Linked DNA regions of Homo sapiens: regions 1, 2, 3, 5 and 6 are each linked to region 4. The links are contacts of gene promoters, found by promoter capture Hi-C in blood cells and fetal thymus (Javierre and others, 2016). All regions are on one chromosome and are shown on one strand. The core of a region is centred on a gene start or on the middle of the fragment in contact, and the rest is flanking DNA. Distances in the headings are between cores, read along the strand shown. Region 1 overlaps TAPT1-AS1 (TAPT1 antisense RNA 1). Region 2 has its middle 42 kb from the start of TAPT1-AS1. Region 3 overlaps TAPT1-AS1 (TAPT1 antisense RNA 1). Region 4 holds the start of MED28 (mediator complex subunit 28). Region 5 overlaps TAPT1 (transmembrane anterior posterior transformation 1). Region 6 holds the start of FAM200B (family with sequence similarity 200 member B).

Region 1 (3,441 bases), core at 451-2,950, 1.4 Mb after region 4:
GTAATTTGATTTTATTTTTACTGTGTAAAACTGTGTGTTTATCCAGCTAGTAAAAATAAAATCAAATTACATGAAACTAAGTACTGTTCAGAAAAAGAATATCTAGCCAAACATGTCAGATAATAAATATCAGAACTATAATAAATATTAAAATTGAGTATTTAAAAATGGGTTGCAGCACTAGAAATGAATTATTTATATTAAGACAATTGTGTTATTACACTGCTAAGTAGATGGATGAAAGGTCAGAGTGTAATTTAAAAGATGATAATGACCAGCATGTGATTTAGTCTCAGTTTTCTTAGCAATTGAATATTTATGTGTAAATTATACACGCCAAATTTGTAACCCCAGTGTATATCTGTCAAGAGTGGGCATATGCTTAGGAGAACATGAATTAACGTTAGTACCAGCTTAGGCAATGTATAATTAGGAGGATAAAATTGTCACAAGAAAATAATGCTTGCTAAAGCCACAACATGTTTTCTTTTTATTGCTATTTCAAAAAATTAACCACATTCTTCTATTCTCCTCCATGAAACTGTATACCTAAGTTATAGTATTTATTAAGCATCCACATGGAAGACAAGCAGGTAACAGTGGTTCATTATTAGAAATTGATACTAAATTGGAAAATGTCAGAAACAAGAGAAGCATTTTACATATAAACATAGGCTTAGAACTGAAAAGAAAACGGAATAGAATAGATGCATATAAAAGAGCAATTTGAAAATCTAAGGCCTTGAAATCAGATAAACTAATTTCTAAAACCTGGAAAGCAGAAACCCTGAGATTTTTGAGAATCTGAAAATTTATCGTGCATTTCCAATAAATTTTGGTATGAACGCAAAAGAGAGAGATAAATACTTGGGTTTGCCTAAAAGATAACAAACAATAGATCCTTGTAAGAGACTGCTTTCGCTTTTTAATATCTCAGAAACAAGAGGAGAAAGAAAAGGAAAAACTGTCAGAATGGAAACACTGATTAATGAACAGGATGAAAGCTAATTACAAGAGCAGGATCACAGCCCAAAAGAGCTTAAAGGGCATCGATGTCAAGAGAAAAATTACTCAGTTACCTTAATCCATCATAGTTCAACTAGAAACACTAGAAAAAAGCAAAAAATTATCCTGAATATCATGTAAAATCTTCTGATTACCAACTACTATTTGATGAGTGGCCAAACGAAGCAATAAATAACTTGCCACTGGGGAATAACAAAAAGAAAAAAAAAAAAAAACTCTGAAAGGCAAAATTCAAAAGGACTAGCAACAGGAACTGGGTGATAAATAAAATCTCCCCTGCTTCCTGAATTCCAAAATGAAAGCCTTTGCTAGCTAGAATTATAAAAAAGGATTTTTGACAGTTATCAACACATTTACTAGAAGGTCTGAATTTATTCTGCAAAAGGATTCTTGTTAATTAACCGACTAAATGATTAATACGGTTTGAAACAACCTCTATTTATTTTCATCGTGATAATGAGAAACACTTCTTTTTTCTTAGAGATAAATCTGGAATGGAAAGTCTGCTGAGTCATTACCAGGGCCCCTTTCATCAGTATTTTGAAATTTTCCAGAAATTTAAAGTACAGCACAAAATAAATTTTATATCTGATCATGAATAAAAGGCCCTATAAGCCAATAAGCCATGAAATTATATAGGTTCATACACTTTTATTACATAAACAGAACCTACCTTTAGGTCTTCAGAACATAATATCCTTCATAAAACACCCCTTTTAGCAAAGTATTGTTTTCAAAAAGTCCTATTTACAATGGTTTCTGTCATATATTTGCACGTCAAAGAAATGCTTTTAAAAATGATGTTGCTCATGACAGTTTTAGTTAAGGTGTAACAGTTACATTGGAATCAAAGGCACATTACTTAATTTGTGTTACATCTTCCAGAAATAAAGCGAACTGGTGTCCTTTACAAATCCATGGAATAAAGCCCAAAGAGAATAAAACGTAATGAGCGTCAGTCCAAAAATGATTGCCAAAGATAGAAAATATTACTACTGAAACTCAGAAATTCAAACTCACATTAATTTAGTGCAAAGGCTTGATCTGGGTTCAGTGGTATATTTTATTTCTTTAGAACATCAGCTGCAAAGCTGTTTAGATCTTTCAACAACATCAACTCTTCTTTTTGACGACAAAATGGTGAATGAGTTAAATTCAGAACTACAGTTTGTGAAGAAACATGACATTTATGATTCATGAAATAGAAGTCATGTAATGCTAAAATAAAGTTTCAACTGAGAAATACAGATTTAATTAAAACTGTGCTCTATTCCGTGCTTGAATCCACACTATGAAAATCAACTGTACATTGATTACTGAGTAATCATCTCAAATATAACTTCAGGTGCTGTTTAATGTCACCTTACAGCAGAGTTCTTAGACTCAGGTGTGCATGGGTACAATACTGGAAATTTGTTCAAAATGTAGAAACCCTGAGGCCTGGTGTGAGAAACACAGCCTTAGAGTTCTGGAAGGTCACTGAGAAACCATCACTTCTCCTCATGCCAAGGAATGAAGGACTAATGCATAGAACATAAAGGTACATAAAAACTTACATGTCTTTGTTGTGTTATCAACACAAGTATTGCATTTGAACTCTATGCATTCAAATCTTAGACTCAATTACAAAGTGACTCTAAGCATTTCATATTTTTCTACAAATGTTGATAATGCAGGCCTGTCTACTATTTTTAACTCAGAAGGGAGGTGCATGGAGTTTAGCCCAGAATTTTGGAGCTACAAGGGAGGATCGGTCATTGAGTCCAATACTCTACAGGTCAGAAAATGAAGCAGAAAGGGGTCACCTGTGCTCCTTTGGTCAAAGACTTTAGTTGAAGGGTCAGAGAGAATCCAGGCCATCTCCTGACTCGGGATTCTTTCAAGTTAGCAAATATGTGATGTTTTTATTACTCAGGAAAAGTGTACAGAACTACTTTCAAAAGTACTTTAGGGACAATACACTAGAAGTGTTATCAAGAGATAAATTGCTTTGTAGTTAAAAAGTGAAAACTACAGCCTAAATGAAAGGAAGGGAGAATAAAAGGAAAATCGTTATTTTTTTCAGCTTTCATTATACAAAAGATGTTGCCCCAATTTACCAATGAAAAGACACTGAGGGCCACAGTGGCCCTCTGAGACCCTCTTTCCAGGGTCACATAGCTGAAATATGTGGCCAAAACAGTATCTTTCCCAAGGCTTGTAACTGTAGGCCCTTGTACTACACTGTGCTATACCTGGTAGAAAAGAATATAGATATACAAACTAAAAAACATCACTTATTTTAAAACTTGTTATTTCATGAAATGGCAGACCATAATGATTTGGTGTGGACATTAAACAAAAAGAGTTTATATGCCTCATTAAGATAATTTTCTGGAGCTCTGAATCCATGGTTTATACATAATGGGTTCAGTA
Region 2 (3,543 bases), core at 108-2,607, 1.3 Mb after region 4:
TTGGGGCTGTTTCTAAGGATTGCTTGCGGTCATTTTAAATTGGAAAATATCCTGTGAGTAGATGACATAATCAGATGCAGTGGAGGTAGTGGTTAAGAACCAAGCTCCGGAGCCAGGCCTTGCGGGTTTAAACCTCACTTCCTCCACTGAATAGTTGTATAACCTTGGGCAAATTGCTTAAAAGTGAAATGGAGAAAGCAAGAAGCCATTCCTCCTGGGACTGCTACAAGAATGAATGAGCTGTACATGTGGAATTCATAGAGCAGAGCCTGACACCAGCAAGCATTTGTAAGCATGTAAAATGTGATTATTAAGACTTCTGAAAAAATAGGCTCTGTGAGTAAGCAAATAAGATTTTTAAAATAATGATTCAATAAACTTACCTGACATCCGTATACAGGTAATTGTATAGCATCCAAAGTAGTCACCCTGGGGCTACAAATATTCTCATGATGTTGCCATTATTCAAGGGTTGTTTTTTTTGTCAGAATTTCTCCTTTAGAATTTTATTTAGAATCTGCCATACATAGGTTTGATTGCCCTTGTTCCAGCAAAAAAGGGATTTAGTTACAAAATCCCATTGAAAATAATGATTAGAATATGTAGGCTCAGTGTGTGACCATTCTTCCTTCTGGTCACCCAAGCCTTGTGCTGCAGGTAACCACAGAGGTGAGGAACTATGAATCTTTGCCCCTGTGAGCCTCACTGGCTTGGGGAAACCAAGTCCTGTGGAACAACTCCAAGTGCTTGCCTGGAAAGACTCTAAGTCTCCTTAGCTGCCTTGACAAGGTATCAGATGGCTTCCAAGGAAACCTCAGTCCCAGAAAATTTTCTTGGCTCTATGTCCCATCTCACTTCTCCTAAAGGTCTTGATCAGTGAGTGCTGCTACTACCACCACCGCCTCTTGGTCCTTTGCCAAGGCTTGGGTGGGTTGCTCCCCAGTCCTGTCTGTAGTGCTTTCTTAAGCTCTCCAAAGGTATCCAGAGTCAGTCCATTCATCATAGCCCCTGACACATGTTAACTTGAATCAGTTCCCAGCAAACTGAATCTATGGGGTAGCTGAAGGTCCAACCAATGCCTTATTAAGTAAGGTTTAACCCTCTGCACTGTTCAGGATTTGAAGATAATTGAGAGTGAGAAAATTTAGCTCCCAACTGCCAATAAGAGCAGGAAATCAAAAAGCCCATGGGCTCCCATCCCAGTGCCAACTGATGCTGTGCTTTTTATTCAGGACTCCCCAGTGCTGACAGATGTCTTGGTTGAGGGGTAGTGGTGGTAGATATCATCAAGGCACAGGTGTATTTCAATGTATGTGTGAATCAAAGAAACAGTGTTTGAGTAGAAGCAGGCATTGATGATCCTGTTATGATCCCAAAAGATGGTCCAAGTGACCAAGTCCTATGGTGAACACAAGTAGTGGTACAGTCCTCCAGTAGTAACTACTTTTTAGGGATACTGGCTCACCAGTGATGCTGCCTTAGGAGGCCTCTGAGCCAAACCAGTCAGGCTCTTAGATGAAAGCTGCTTCAGTTCCTACAGCCTCAGAGACAGAGACAGATGATTGTCTCTGAAGCCAGTATGGACACAAAGTGCAGCTCAATGAGTGAGAAGAGGCTTGGGAATAGATGAGTGGTTCTGCTGCTCACCGCTGGGAAGCCTAAACTCCAGAGACAAGGGTTGGTGGGAGGAAAAGCAGGTTTATTTGGAGAATCAGCAAACCAAGAAGATGGTGGACTAACATCCTAAAGTATCATCTTAACTTGGTACAAATTTCAGGTTCTTTTCATGTTAAGGGCAGGGGGAAGAAGAGGGAGTTGTGATCAAGAGGTGACAAATGACTGCAGACATCTGAGCACCAGTGAGGGTTGGAGGAGGTTGGGAACTTCTTTGTCGTCAGTCAGGTCACAGTGTACCCGTATATCTTTAACAAAGTACAGTTAATTGTTTACCTACTTTCCCTCTAATTCCAGAGTTAGTTACAGAAACTCCGTGACTGCTGTTTTTGCATATTATCTCAGTGCTCTAAAATTATCCTAGCCTAGGTGCAGGAATGGGTAAATGCTCCTTAAATAAAAATGGAGTTAGTTATGTTAGTTCGTTTGCTGTTTCCCTGTTACAATAAAAGCCAGGGCTGTTCAGAAACACGGCTACAGTTGGGACTCTCCTGCGAAGACACAGGCTCCAGGGAGGTCATTCCCTACCTGTGCAGGGAAACAGTCCCTGAAATGAGGGCGGAAAACAATAGAGGAGGCCCATTCTCAAGGCCCTTCTGGATTAGTGACCCACAGCATGAGGCTCCATGGAGACACCTGCAGCACTTACAAGGCAGAGCCCAGTGGGTTTCAGTGACAACAGGTTGGTATAGGTCTCCTGCCACAATTTTGACACCGAGCTCCTAACACCATCTTGGCAGTCTCAGTGACCATTTCTTCAGCAATGTTGCTAAACTTAAGCTAGTTCAAATTAACACCCAATTTTTTATAATTTCTCCTTTCTCAACTACCAAATCTTGTTCACATATATAAATTGCTGACTGTATGTATTAATGCTTTATTTTGAATTCTACAAATAAATATTCTTAAGGAAGATTCATCTGTTTTCATTTCTCATATTGTCCTTGTTTTGTTTTCAAGGGGAGATCAGCCTTATAAAATGAACTTAAGAACTTTGTCTTTCTCTAGTCACTGGAACAGTCTGCATAAGCTAGTGAAGAATCTTTCTTCACAATTTGATGGGCTTAGTGTTGAAAGTTGTCTGATCCAGGTGAGTGACAGCGTGTGTGTGTGTGTGTGTGTGTGTGTGTGTGTCTGTTTTTGAAGACAAATTCAATTTCTCTAGTGTTAACAGGACTTTTCAGATTTTCCATATTTTCTTAAATCATTTCTGGTTCTCTACGTTTTTCTACAAGCTTACTGAACTATTTGCAAACTTTTTGGCATAAAGTTGGAAATATCTGTAATATCTTCTGTCTCTGGTTGTGATTCCTTTTTCATTCCTAATGTTAATAATCATTTGCCAGTAATAAATGCTTAATATCAATTATCATTGCTGTAAGTTTGTCTGTTTTGTTAGCCTCTTCAAAGAAGTGTTTTAATGTTCACTGATGGTCTATTTTTTTGCCTCCCATTTAATTAATTTCTGCTTTTATTTTCATTATTCCCTTTTTCTCTTGCTTTAAGGTTACTCTGCCATTCTTTTCCTAACTTCTCAGACTAAATAATTTCTTTTGTAATTTTATATCTTCTTTTGTCTAATAAATGTATTAAAGCCATAAATCTAAAGTATTGCAATAGCTAAATCCCATTATCTTTTATATGTAGTGTTTCGTTGTTATTCTCTTCTTAATATTTTGTAATTTTTATTATAATTTCTTCTTGATATACATTATTAATTGATAGCTATGAATTTTTTAAATTCCAAAACTATGGGGATTGTTTTTAGTATCAATTGCTAGTTTAAATTGCATTTCAGTCAAACAACAGGGCCTACAGCATATTAATTTTTAGGTAATATAACTTTTTTGTGGCTCAGATTTTTTTGTG
Region 3 (3,163 bases), core at 73-2,572, 1.4 Mb after region 4:
AGGAGTCAAATATGACTCACAGTCTTGAATAACTGGAATTATTCATTCATCAAGTATTTGTTGAGCTTTTGCTATATGCCAGGAAAAGTGCCAGATGCTAGGATTGCAGCAAAGAACATGGTAGACGAAGACCCTATTCTCAGGGAGCCAATGTACTAATGAAAGAGAGTATCAATAGATATATAAAGAAATATAAAACATCATATGGCAAAGGAAAAAACAAATCAGGGTAAGAGGATAGAGTCTGTGGGGGTGCTTTTTTAGATATTATGGTCAGAGAAGGCCTCTTTCCAGAAGTGACTATTGGGCAGAGACCAGAAGAAAGCCAGGCAGTGAGCCATGTGAAGTTCTAGGAGAGAAGTATCTGGGGCAGAGAGAGTAGCATGAAAAAAGCCCTGAAATGAGTGTCCATCTGGTGTGTTCAGAAAGTAACAAGGGGGCCTGTGTAGGCAGCAGAGTCAACAAGGAGGAGGTGATAGGTCATGAGCCCAGAAAGATAGCCAAAGGCCTAATCCTCAATGGTCTTGTAAGCCAAGGTAAGTACCTCTGGCTTTTGTTTGGAGGAATCATTTATAGAGAGCAAGAGTAAACAGATACCAGTAAGAAGGCACCATGGGAGCCCAGGGAAGGGACAATGGTGGCTTGAACTGATGTAGCACTGCTGGAGGAGATGAAAAATGGCCAGATTCCAGATCTATGATCAGGCAACGCTTGTAGGATTTTTTTTTTATCAGATTTGATGTAGAGTAGAAGAAAAAGGATGATTCCAGAGTTTGTACTTAGAACAGCTGGGTAAATGGTGGTGCCCTTACCAAGATGCAGTATGGTGGGCAAAGACAGCAGGGGCTTTGCTTAGCCCCTGTTAGATTTAATAAACCTCTTGGACATTCAAGTGGAGATGTTTTGAAGGAAGGATGTGATCATGGAGTTAGGAGGAATGTCAGGGTTAGAGATATAAATTTGAGATGGCTTTACCACCATCAAAAATAGAGAAACCAGGAGAGAGAAGCAGATTCACATACCGTATGTATTCACATTCAGTATGTATTAAGCACAGAAAAAGTGTGTGAATCCACTTACTATGTGTTAAGCACTTTTTTAGGGCCTGGGTGTACAGACATCAAAGACATACTTCTTCACTTCCAAGGGCTCACAGTTCACCTGGGAATACAAACAAGTAAGCAACCAGCTACACTTTAGTATGATACGATCTATAACAGAAGTTTCCAAGGGGTGCTATAAGAGACAGCAGAAGGGCATCAGATGCAGGAAGCCTTCCTAAGGAAAATGATACACAAGAAAAATTTGGAGGGTTGAGGAAGGAATGTTTTGGGACAAAAAATTCAGGCCCAAGGAGAAGGATGTTTCGGGGGACAGAACGTAGTTTTCAATAGCATAGAGGCATTTGAAACGTGACATGTTCGTGAAACTGCAGTTATTTGACATGACTGGAAAAAAGAGTGCTTGTAGAAGAGTGGTAAGAGATGAAACAGGAAAGGTGAGCAGGGGATAGGCCAGAAAGGTCTCTTTAGCCCATACTGGGGAGTCTGAAGGTGAAGAAGACAAGTTTTGTTTTAGAAATGCTAAGTTTAAAATACAAATGCATGCTGCTCAGGTGGTAGATGCACCAAAATCTTACAAATCACAACTAAAGATCTTACTCATGTAACCAAGCACCACCTGTTCCCCAAAACCTATGGAAATAATTGTTCTTTTCCAATCACTCTGGGAGCTTTTAATAGGCACAAGTGCTGCAGCCCCATCCTACATATTCCAACATAATTGTTCGGGGGTAGAGACCTGACATTGGTCTCATTAAGATGTGTTTGTGTGTATATGCACAATATACATGTATATGTATTACATATGTATATGCATTCATATATATATACAGTACATATGTGTATGGATTCACATTTTTACAATACATATGATTATCTCATTTCTTTCTATAAAAATAAAATAAAATACAAATGGGACTTGCCTAGCAGGTAACAGAAAATGGGAGATTAGAACTCCAGGGGAGGTCAGGGTCAGATTTATATTTCTAGTTATGTCTGTATCTGTCATATTTCAAAACCTCTGTCATAGAAATCATCATTGAAGCCATAGGAGTGAATTAAATATCCAAGAAATAGAAAATGCAGAAAAAAGAGAAGTAAGAAAAGAACAGTTCTGTAGGCAGACCCCACAATTAGAAGACTGGAGAAGGCCGGGCGCGGTGCCTCACGCCTGTAATCCCAGCACTTTGGGAGGCTGAGGCGGGCGGATCACAAGGTCAGGAGATCGAGACCATCCTGGCTAACACGGTGAAACCCCGTCTCTACTAAAAATACAAAAAATTAGCCAGGTGTGGTGGCGGGTGCCTGTAGTCCCAGCTACTTGGGAAGCTGAGGCAGGAGAATGGCGTGAACCCAGGAGGCGGAGCTTGCAGTGAGCCAAGAATGCGCCACTGCACTCCAGCCTGGGTGAGAGTGTGAGACTCCGTCTCAAAACAAAAAAAAAAAAAAAAGAAGACTAGAGAAGTGGAAGGGGAGTCATTATGGAGCTCAGGGAAAGAACAGTCAGGAGGATTTAAGAGCTGGAAGAGTACAATGTCACCATCGCCATGGAAACAGGGACTCATGAAAGGGACAGTGGTTGACAATATCAAACACAGAGAGGTTAAGGAGGGTAAAAATGGAGAGAAGGTCATCAAATGTGATGACCACGTGGTCCTTTGGTGACCTTTGGGAGAGTAATTTAGGAGAAAGCAGGGGTAAAAGTCAGCAGCAAAGATGTTGGAGTAATTAGGTTACAAAAAGTGAAAACAAGGAAGGTGGACTTTACTAAGCATTCTTTTCCAAGCCCGTCCCATTTTCCTGCCTGGCATTTGCCTTTTGTACTCCACCTTGACTTGACCTTTTTCTCCTGGCATTTTGTCCTGTCTCTCTTACTTCCACTGTCTACTGGCCCCCTGTAACAGCATTCCTTGCCAGCAACAATTCTAGCATTCAGCCAACTAGCAAGCTATGAACTGAATCACCAAGTAGACTTTAACAGATAAGAAAACAGATCAAAGGTTACCTTGGTGAAACATGTGTCATGATAGATTCTGTATAATGAATGGAATCTCTTTAAGGACATTTCTGACTGGAAGAATCCCCACCTGTCTGTTAACAGA
Region 4 (3,406 bases), core at 340-2,839:
TAATCCCAGCACTTTGGGAGGCCGAGGCGGGTGGATCACGAGGTCAGGAGTTCGAGACCAGCCTGGCCAAGATAGTGAAGCCCTGTCTCTACTAAAAAATAAAAAAAATAGCATGGTGGCAGGTGCCTGTAATCCCAGCAACTCGGGAGGCTGAGGCAGGAAAATCGCTTGAACCCGGGAGGCGGAGGTTGCAGTAAGCCGAAATTGCGCCACTGTACTCCAGCCTGGGCGAGAGAGTGAGACTCCATCTCAAATCATTTATTTCTAAATCTTTGTACATCCGTGTGGTAAAAGCATTTTGTCCATGCAGTCTGAATAATCGCTTGCAAATTATATTCATTTACCACTGTGCTATTAGATACAATACAAAAGTCACAAAGTTGGGATTTTTATTTATTTATATTTTATTTTACTTTTTTGAGACGGAGTCGAGCTCTTGTCACCCACGCTGGAGTGCAATGGCGCGGTCTCCGCTCACTGCAACCTCCGCATCCCAGGTTCAAGCGATTCTCCTGCCTCAGCCTCTCGAGTACCTGGGATTACAGGCGCACGCCACCACGCCTGGCTAATTTTTGTATTTTTAGTAGAGTCAGGGTTTCACCATGTTGGTCAGGCTGGTCTCGAACTCCTGACCTCATGATCCGCCAGCCTCGGCCTCCCAAAGTGCTGGGATTACAGGCGTGAGCCACCGCGCCCGGCAAAACTGGGATTTAAAATGTGGAAAAGTTAACTCCAATTTGAACGTACATTACTTTATTACTACACAGGAATAGCTCATCTTCCACTTTAAAGACTACTGGAAATCACCAGAGCACTTATTTTCACCTCTCTATCTTCCCTCAATATACAGTTCACCTTTCTTGCTACAAGGTAAACTCCTTGGGCAAAACTGAGAGATTGGGTCACCTGTGCCTCCCTCCCTCCCTAACCTCCAGCATTCCTCCTTCCTCAGCTCTTAGTACCAAGCTGCGCCTGGTAACTTAAGTCAATTTCCGCTCTTAAGAGTCCCTTTAGGATCGTTTAAAGGTGAAGCCCAGCGGAAAGGATACAGGATACAGCAGTGAAACTCTCAGCTCCGAAAAGGCTTGAGCCTCTTACTAAACATGCAGGGATGCAAGAAACGGTGCTCGGGGATGAGACTAAGGACCGGCTGGGAATCTGGAAGGGTTCCAAGTTTGGGGTTTAGGCAAACTTCGGGTTCACGTTTCCACAAACGTCGAGTTTACGCGCCCCCGCCAGCAGACCTGAATTGAATACGGGCCACGGGGAAGCCTAAAGCAAGTGACTTACTTTAAGCCTCAGTTTCCCCATTTGTGAATTAGTTGCTCGGATCCCTGGAGGAGATACGCGTACGCGCAGTTCACGTTTCAGAAAAAAGGGAAGGCTAGGGACAAAGACGCCCATGTCTTATATTACCTCGAAAGATGACTCCAACTCGTCCACCAAAGTACTGCTGGAAGGTCTAGGAGCGCCTGGAGCTGCCTGAAGAAGCGAAGCTTGGCCCGGAAGGCCCGGCGGGGCCTGAGGGGGACCGGGTGGCTGCCCAGAAAACATACCCCCTAGTGGAGCCGCCATGTTTGGAATGGCGCAAGAGAGATCCACTGCGCCTGCGCGGAAGCCGGCTCAGAAGCTCACGTGGCTGGTGTAGTAGGCGTGGTCACGTGACAGGACCGAGCGATGGGAGGATTCTGGTGCACCCCGGAAGGAGGATTTTTAATTCTTCTGTTTTCTTGTCTATCGCAAAACAGAGTTTACATGTATTTTCCTTTTTTCTTAGCTTAAGAATTGAAGACTTTGGCCGGATTAGACCTGGTTGTGTGGAGAGGAGAATTAATAACTACAGTGGAGCGAGCCCTCCTGCGAGAGTCAGGATACTACTATGCTAGTCCCGACTCTGCCCCAAATGCCTGGAGAGACTTTGGCTAAGTCACTTTTTCTTTCCGCGGGCTGTTTACCGTTGGTAAAAGGAGAGGGTCACCCACTCACTCCACAAACATTTGTTGAGTCATTGGTTATAGCGGGAACAAGACAGGCAAAGTTCTTCCTGAATTCTGGTCGGAGATGGATAACGGAAACAACTTTGTTGAGGTTCCCAATGTGCCCGGCACTGATGTCTTTAAATATTTATGGTTACATCAAAGAGAAAGTCACTATGCTAATCTTTTTTTTTCTTTCTTTTCTTTTTTCTCAGGGTCTCGTTCTGTCGCCCTGGCCGGAGTGCAGTGTCATGATCAGGGCTCGACCTCCCGGGCTCAAACAATCCCCCTACTTCAGCCACCCAAGTAGCTAGGACCACAGGTGCGTGCAGTCGCGACGGGCTTTTTTTTTTTTTTTTTTTTTTTTTTTTAGTTGAGTCAGGTGTTTTACTGAGCTCAAGTGATTCTACCGCCGCGGCCTCCCAAAGTGTTGGGAATACAGTAATGAGCCAAGGCGCCAGGCTGCTAATTTTTTTTTTTTGAGACAGAGTCTCGCTTTGTCGCCCAGGCTGGAGTGCAGTGGCGCGATCTTGGCTCACTGCAAGCTCCGCCTCCCGGGTTCACGCCATTCTCCTGCCTCAGCATCCCGAGTAGCTGGGACTACAGGCGCCCGCCACCACGCCCAGCTAATTTTTTGTATATTTGGTAGAGATGGGGTTTCACCGTGTTAGCCAGGATGGTCTCGATCTCCTAACCTCGTGATCCGCCCGACTCGGCCTCCCAAAGTGCTGAGATTACAGGCGTGAGCCACCGCGCCCGGCACTAGGCTGCTAATCTTGTAGTAACCTGCTTTTAACATTTGCTTATCTCTCTCTTTTTTTTTGGTGACGGAGTCTCGCTCTGTCGCCCAGGCTGGAATGCAGTGGCGCGATCTCGGCTCACTGAAACCTCCGCCTCCTGGGTTCAAGCAATTCTCCTGCCTCAGCCTTCCGAGTAGCTGGGACTACAGGCGCCCGCCGCTCGGCTAGTTTTTCTGTATTTTAGTAGCGCCGGGGTTTCACCTTGTTGCCCAGGCTGGTCTCGAACTCCTGAGCTCAGACAATCCGCCCGCCTCGGTCTTCCAAAGTGCTAGGATTACAGGCGTGAGCCACCGTGCCCAACCTTCTTATTTATCTCTTTAAAACCAAATAACTTTTTTTCATTATATCTGATTTTACAGTTATTACCCAGCACACTTACTGAGCGCTCCACTTCCCAGGCACTATTTAATGATCTGGAGGTTATAGCAATCATCCCAAATCTCTGGAAGGAGACAGACAAGCACATAAATACATAGCAATATTGTGCAGAGAGAAGAGCTGGGAAGGAAAATGAAACCCAGTAAGGGGATGGCTAGTGAGAGGGGTGTTCTTTGAGATAGGTGATTGGAGGAGGCCTCTCCAAGGAGATCTGGACTGTAGTGACTGGCATGAAAATTTAACTAGGAGTGC
Region 5 (3,668 bases), core at 209-2,708, 1.4 Mb after region 4:
TTTCAACTCCAGGTATCTCTCATGGTAACACTGACTCCCCAGACAGATTATGAATCTGGTATTTAAAGAAGTGTGTATGTGTATGTGTGTACATACACATATATATGGAATAAACCCTAACATAAGCAAGCCACTTGACATAATACTCAAAGAACCAGGAATCCGTTTTAATGCTGGAGGAAGTAAGCTGTTGTAGACCTATTGTTTAAAACCATAGTCAAGTTGGCTTCTAAGTCTTTCCAAGGGCTTTTAAGGAGATATATATATATATTTTGTTGTTGTTGTTTTGAGACACAGTCCTGCTGTGTCACCTACGCTGGAGTGCAGTGGCGTGATCTCGGCTTACTGCAACCTCTGCCTCCTGGGTTCAAGCGATTCTCTTGCCTCAGCCTCCCAAGCAGCTGGGACTACAGGCGCCCACCGGCACGCCCGGCTAATTTTTTTTTGTACTTTTAGTAGATAGGTTTCACTATGTTGGCCAGGCTGGTCTTGAACTCCTGACCTCGTGATCTGCCCACCTCGGCCTCCCAAAGTGTTGGGATTACAGGCGTGAGCCACCGTGCCTGGCCAAGGATATTTTTTACTATAAACGCTTCCCCCCTCACATGTAGGCTTTAGATCATAGTACTCCTAGAAGGTGCAACTCCTTAAGTAGATCTGCATAAATGAAATCAACCTTCCTCCCTTGTCATTTTTTGGAGGGAACATTAAGACCACATTTGGTAGAAAGGACCACAAGGCCAGCTCAGAGCAAAGAGAACAGTGGACAGTTGGAAACCTTTTGGTAACCTGCGTTCTGGAAGAGAGTTTACCTCCTGCAGAGTAAAAGTAGGAAGCTGTAGATGAAGTAAGGGGTGCTGAGGGTCATTGAGGGGATGGGCTATCAGGGAAGTGTAATGCACTGGGAAGAGGTGGGGTCGAGCATCCAGAGCCTTCGCTTCTCACCTCAAGCTTCCAGTTGTAGTGAGTGGAAAGTATATAAATAACTTCCTTTGACCTTGTTTTTCTCACCTGAGATGAGATAACTATGGAGTAATTTGCTTTAGAGGAACAGAGGAAAAACACGGGTGAATGGAAAGATCCAAGGAAAGGGAGGTTTTTCTGATCCGGTTGAGGTTGCACTTCGCGTAATAACTATTGTGAGTATCATGTTGGTAAGTCTTCATGTAGGGAAATGGCATTATTTAGATGTTTGTGCAGGATCTCTGAGGCTAAACTAAGAAGGGAGCTGGGGCACCAGTATCCATGTAGTTCATCCAGGATGGTTCTTGGACTAAAGTGGTGCCCGTTGTGTGACTTTGCTCCCTTTTGACTCTATATATTGCTCTATTTTATATATTCTTGACACCTACTGATTTTCCTTCCATGTCTGTCAGTCCAGGTACTGTATCACCTGTAAGAACCAAGACTGAGCTCTTGAAAAATACTTTTCTGACTATTCTAGCCCTTAATAATTATTCCTTTCCATATTCCTGTGGCATTTTCAGGTTATACCACAAAGAAGAATACTTTTCTCAAAAATACTTGCTGATCATTGTGTGCAGTTCTAGGCATAGAATTATAGATAACATTTATTTTGGTCTCTTTGTTTTATATGTATATTACCTGTGGCCCCAGCTAGCGTGGAAGTTCCTTGATAAATACTGTTCTTTTTGTTTTCTGTCATTTTCTTTTCTGTAGAGCTTTCATTGTTGAGGTTCCTCAGTGCTGAACTAACAAGAGGGTACTTCCTTGAACATAATGAGGCCAAGTATACAGAAAGAAGAGAAAGAGTATACACTTGTTTGCGAATACCAAGAGAATTGGAAAAGGTACTATTTTTTCTTCATTACCAGACATCATTTTGAAAGTTATGTCAAAGTATTAATTATGCAAAAAAATGGTCAACAGCTAGAGTTGAGTTTTTTAAATAATTGAAATAATGTTATTGGGGGAGTAGAAATTTCCTTACAGGAAGAAGCTTTAAAGTTACATTTTTTAGTGTAAGACCCAGTGATAGGATATTAATAGATCTATCAAAATCTGAACTTTTCTGCCTATCATTATCATTGTGTGCTACATCAAAATAACTTTTGTAAGGAATTAATCTCTACTTCTGTACCCTTTTAGTTCCCTTCAGTTCTCTTTTACTAGAAACAGGTTTTTTTTCCCCCATTCAGCATGATAAATTATTTAATTTCAGCCTTTTTAAAGGTTTCAGTTTCTCAGAAAGCCCACATGTTTATAAACATACAGGACAGTCTCTTCAAAGAAAAAGATGGTTTGTTTAATCTTTATCACAGGAAGCATCACATTACAGGGTGAGTGTAGTAACAGCAGCACTACATCTTCACGTGTCTTATTCCTTGGCTGTGCCTTATCCTATCAAGACCAATAAAATAGGCTGGGAAAGCAGCCCCTTCTCCCCTAGGCGATGCTAGAGTTGGTGAGTCTAAGCAATTCCAAAATTTCTTGCTAAAAGAAAAGAAGAAATAATTCAGCTTCAGCTATATTGAAACATGTTTTCATACTTCTGTAGTAACGTAAATCTTGTAATAGTCCAGTCGTCTTCTTAGAATCATACTTTCTGTTGGAGTGGCTATCAGAAGAGTTTGGTTGGCTGGATTTATTGGTACATTGTAGTAACAAGAGGTACTGCAGGCAATGAGGAGTAAGGACCCAGCTGGTTTGGCTGATGTTCTATTTCTGATAGTCTATCAGTTTAATAGAAGAAAAAGAGCGAAATGTAGAGTGACAGTTTCAGAAATGTTGCTTTATGTAGGTTCTTGGTGAAGCGTCACTTGCTGAAGTTTTAGGGAGTTCTGTATTAGGGTGGGATTTAGAGAGCTGGTGAGCAAGCAAAGATTAGAGAACAAATATGGCAGTGGTTTGATTGCCTTTGGCAAGGATCATTAAATATGCTCAACTATTACTGTATTCCTGCATTTCTAGAGGACTAGAGTTCCCTGGGGGGGCCTGAGGGACTTACAGATAAGGAGGGAGGAGGAGTGGGCAGGGCTCTCCACAGCACTCCTCTCCAGCGCAGCAACAGCTCTGTCTTATACATTGAGATTTATCGAAGATTTTGTTTGGGGAAAGGAGTAGGGTAGGCGGATGTTTCTTTTACTTGGAAAAAAATAAAAGATTAAACCAGTTCTTGTGTCTTAAAAGACTGTTAGCTTGCTTTGCAGCTTTCTTCCAGCAATAAGCCATGAGATGGAAGTGTGAGGACACAGTGCAGGGGAAGTGGGAAGGACAGCCTGCCAGGGCCTGTATTTGGACAGGATAGTGCCAGCCACAATCAGCTTTTGCCCACCTGGCCTCAGCCCTCTACAGGGGAATTTGTTTCCTGTCTTTCTGAGTAGTTATGAACTCCCATTTTTCTCTGGGGAGAACACAGAGGGATTTGCCTGCAACTCCCACCAAACTTTATGAACACAACCAGGGGACTGCTTCAAAGTGGGTTGGTATCTGTCTCACCCCTTTTATTACCCCTCCTGTGGCAAAACTAATGAGCAGTGGCAACATCCACTCCTGATTTTGTTACCTCAGCAGAGACAGGCTGGTTTCACGCTTCCTTCTTTCTTTCTCTTAAGGCAACACTGAAATAGCAAGCAATGTTTTGGGGTAGATTTCTCACAGAAACTAATAAGCATTTCATGGTTGTAATTATGAGTATAAATTGTTTT
Region 6 (3,279 bases), core at 50-2,549, 1.9 Mb after region 4:
TGTTATTGTTACAATGCTTGATAGTCTAAAATTCCCCGTCACTAATCTTTTATATCCTAAGATATATCTCTAGTGCGCTGTATCATCTTCTGAAAATACAGCTCTAATCAGCTTCCTCATAACTGGAAAAGCATTTAATGGCGCCGAGCTTGTGTAAGCTCTTCAGGATAATATCCTTTAAGCTTAAGCCTCATCTTTCCAGGTTTCTCCTTCATCACATGATCTCCATACATTCTACATTTCAGTACTAAAAGTATGGAAATTCTTGAAATAGTTCATGCACTTTCATGTCTCTGCTTTTGGCTAGTATTCCTTTTGCCTGGAATACTCTTGTTGGGTCACATGAAGTCCTATTTATTCTTTTCTACTTAGTTCAAATGCTACAGCAGCCATGCATTCAACTAACATTTAGCTACCTACAGTGCCTAAAGTATGTCAGGCACTGGAGATACTAAACAATGAACAGTGACATATTAAAATAACAGAATATCTGTTCAGCTATTAAGATGAATAAGGTGGAGTTACACAACACTGACAAATCTCAAAAACATTATGTAAAACAAGCTAGCTGCAAAAAGATGTACACATTACAGATTGCATAAAGGTGGTTAGGAGAGTGGTTTCCTTAGGCAAAAGGAAAGAGAATGAGACGGGGTAGAGCTGACAAAGGACTTCAATCACTTATATAATCATTTATTTCTCCAATTCAGTGGTGAGTACACATGTGTTATAGTTTTGTTTCTACCTTTTTTCTGTCTAAAATCGTCTATTTAAAAAAAGCATCTTTAAGGCTGGATACCTTCCTGAAGGCACTGGAAATCTGTCATACTGCCACTAACTTAAAATTACCTTCCACCTCTTGCATTTCCCTTTGTTTCCTGTTTTGACATTGCGCACACATTAGTTAGTACACTAGGCCTTAAGAGTGGAAACTGCCAGGTACCAGCTTTAGCTAGATTAAAACATGACCCTCTTCCCAGGAGACTCCTGACCGGTTTTCTCGTCCTCCAGGGACCCAGCTAGGATTTCAATGAACTTTGGCCTGAACCCCTCGGCCGACCCTAGAATAATCGCCCTTCAGGCCCGGATTGCTTCTGCTCTCACCTTCCCTCAATTCATACGGGGGGCAAAACCAGACTGTATTTCCCGCAACGAACCCTGGAATGCTTCGCTTTAGCGGACTCCGGTCCACTCCCATCAGAGGATGCCCTTCTTTCGCCTCACCTCCAGCCCAGCCGCAGCGACCCGGCCGGGCCCAGCGCTGCAAGCCTCAGGTCTCTCCAGCAGAGCTGCGCCTCTGCTCTCCCCACACTTCCCTCCGCAACACCACTTCCGGCCTACCTCACAAATTCCCCATTCCAGCCGAAAAGAACTGGATCGGCCCTCTGCGCATGCGTGAGACCGGGGCGGTGTCCGGGGGTGCCGGGAGCGGGCGGTGCAGGCTCCACTTTTCCACTTCCCTACGCTCTGTCGGCAGTCTCGCGGGATTTCCGCCTCTCGCGGGAGTTATTTGAATGCCAGGGCGGTAACGACTCCCTAGGCGCCTGGGGCCCTCTGACAAGAAACCCTAGGAGACACCGCGGAGAACTCTGCCTCTGAGCTGGTGGGCGGGCCGGATGTAGCCGAGCGCGGACAGGGCTAGTCCGGACAGAGTCCCAGAGCCATGGGAGCGAAAAGAGACTGCTGCGGATTAAGGAGGCCTTTCGGTTGGCGCAGCAGCCACACCACAACCAGGCGAAGCAGGTAGTGGCGCTGAATCGCTCCTGCCGCGGGGTAAGCGCTCCCGGCCCGCGCCCGCCCCAGCCCCGACCTGGCGGGGCCAGGACGCTGGTTCATACACTCCAAGGTGATTTTCATAGTCTTTGTGGAAGAATTAGAGAATTTTGAACTTTGATATCATTGCACGTGTTTACTTATTTAGAGAATCGCATTGTGTTTAATAATCATAGTATTCCTGTGCGACTCTTTAGGTTAGCAGATCATTGATTTTTAACATAAAACTGCATTTCATTAAATAGATTTAAATATGTATGTATATTTCTGTCCTCTAATGATTGTAACAAAGCAGATTTCTTGATCATTAACAAGATAGGTTCGTGCAAATAAGTGCATCTTTGTCACAAACCAAATTTTTTTGTGGTTGAGATATATATTTATATATATATGTGAAACAAAAAACATATAAAGGAGAATATATATATATTCTTATATATATAATATATACTGCTTTATTTTTTTGGGTTGACATATATATGTCATATATAGTTTTTTTTTAAATTCTACCTTAAACAGGGAAACATGTTAGATACAGGAGCTTGAATTTCAACTCTGAAACTTAATGCGACTTTATCAGCATTTCTCTTTCTCAAGCTACTTACTTCTTGTAGGATTACACAGTCAAATTTTTAAAAATTTTTGATTCTCCAACTGGATTTTTTTTTTTAATTTTTGAGACGGAGTCTCACTCTCTCGCCCAGGCTGGAGTGCAGTGGCGCAGCCTCGGCTCACTGCAACCTCAGCCTCCTGGTTCAAGCGATTCCCCTGCCACAACCTCCCGAGTAGCTGGGATTACAGGCGACCGCCACCATGCCAGGCTAATTTTTGTATTTTTCAAAAATACAAAGACGGGGTTTCACCATTTTGGCCAGGCTGGTCTCGAACTCCTGACCTCAGGTGATCCACCCACTTGGGCCTCCCAAAGTGCTGGGATTACAGGGGTGAGCCACTGCACCCAGCCTCTCCCACTGGATTTTTAAAGCTGTTTTTTGATTAGCAAATATTTCTTTTACATGGCTCAAACTACATGAAAAGAAATGCAGCAAGAAACACTTCCTCCCTAGTCCCTATCCAGTACCATTCCTAATAGTCTTCACGGGTAATCATTTTAAATTAGTTTCTTGTTTATCCTTCCGGTCTTCATGCAGAGATACAAGCAGATGAGAATATACAGTCTTATTTCACTCGGTCTCTCCTTCAATATTTTCTGCATTGTTCATGTTTTTTTTTTTCCTGTTTTACTGTATATTCTGGATATTCCTCCTTATCAGTATTCAATTAAACTTATTTTTTCCTGTCACATACTCCATTTTGTAGATATACTCCAGTTTATACAGTAAATCACGCGTAGGTGGACACTTGGCGTTGTTTCCAGTCTTCAGATATTAGAAACAACTCTTCAGTGAATACATGTCATTTCTACATTTGCAGGGGTAACTGTCAGATTCTGAAAAGAATTGCTGGATCCAAGAGGAAATGTGTTTGCAAATATGATAGATATTT

Evidence for each region. Contacts are between HindIII fragments. The CHiCAGO score rates a contact against its expected background, and 5 or more counts as called.
Region 1: a contact is called between a fragment that was not itself captured here and the fragment with the promoter of MED28 in region 4, in 1 of 17 cell types (fetal thymus). The highest score is 5.6, in fetal thymus.
Region 2: a fragment that was not itself captured here is called in contact with the fragment with the promoter of MED28 in region 4 in 2 of 17 cell types (M1 macrophages and M0 macrophages); the score reaches 9.2 in M1 macrophages.
Region 3: a contact is called between a fragment that was not itself captured here and the fragment with the promoter of MED28 in region 4, in 1 of 17 cell types (M2 macrophages). The highest score is 5.4, in M2 macrophages.
Region 5: a fragment that was not itself captured here is called in contact with the fragment with the promoter of MED28 in region 4 in 2 of 17 cell types (activated CD4 T cells and total CD4 T cells); the score reaches 8.1 in activated CD4 T cells.
Region 6: a contact is called between the fragment with the promoter of FAM200B here and the fragment with the promoter of MED28 in region 4, in 1 of 17 cell types (total CD4 T cells). The highest score is 5.7, in total CD4 T cells.

What each region holds. Positions count from the first base shown.
Region 1 is chr4:16,229,865-16,233,305 of GRCh38, reverse strand. All of the region lies in intron 1 of TAPT1-AS1 (TAPT1 antisense RNA 1), which reads right to left. Among named protein-coding and RNA genes, the nearest start is that of TAPT1-AS1, 4.9 kb to the right of the region's middle. The HindIII fragment of the contact is 8,035 bases long and covers 1-3,441 here.
Region 2 is chr4:16,266,839-16,270,381 of GRCh38, reverse strand. No RefSeq gene overlaps it. Among named protein-coding and RNA genes, the nearest start is that of TAPT1-AS1, 42 kb to the right of the region's middle. The HindIII fragment of the contact is 3,109 bases long and covers 1-2,911 here.
Region 3 is chr4:16,250,623-16,253,785 of GRCh38, reverse strand. The region is part of intron 2 of TAPT1-AS1 (TAPT1 antisense RNA 1); the gene reads right to left. Among named protein-coding and RNA genes, the nearest start is that of TAPT1-AS1, 26 kb to the right of the region's middle. The HindIII fragment of the contact is 3,832 bases long and covers 1-3,163 here.
Region 4 is chr4:17,612,824-17,616,229 of GRCh38, reverse strand. It overlaps MED28 (mediator complex subunit 28), which reads right to left and starts at 1,589. Exons shown (of 4, transcript NM_025205.5): 1 at 1,417-1,589. The coding sequence starts at 1,575. It overlaps MED28-DT (MED28 divergent transcript), which reads left to right and starts at 1,650. Exons shown (of 3, transcript NR_186331.1): 1 at 1,650-2,088; 2 at 2,192-2,298. RefSeq lists enhancers at 1,440-1,549, 1,650-1,939, 1,045-2,244. The HindIII fragment of the contact is 7,436 bases long and covers 1,499-3,406 here.
Region 5 is chr4:16,211,911-16,215,578 of GRCh38, reverse strand. It overlaps TAPT1 (transmembrane anterior posterior transformation 1), which reads left to right. Exons shown (of 14, transcript NM_153365.3): 2 at 1,681-1,811. Among named protein-coding and RNA genes, the nearest start is that of TAPT1, 13 kb to the left of the region's middle. The HindIII fragment of the contact is 1,009 bases long and covers 954-1,962 here.
Region 6 is chr4:15,679,847-15,683,125 of GRCh38, reverse strand. It overlaps FAM200B (family with sequence similarity 200 member B), which reads right to left and starts at 1,299. Exons shown (of 2, transcript NM_001145191.2): 1 at 1,225-1,299. It also overlaps a transcript of FBXL5 not described here. RefSeq lists enhancers at 1,030-1,079, 1,090-1,329, 1,500-1,799. The HindIII fragment of the contact is 4,207 bases long and covers 185-3,279 here.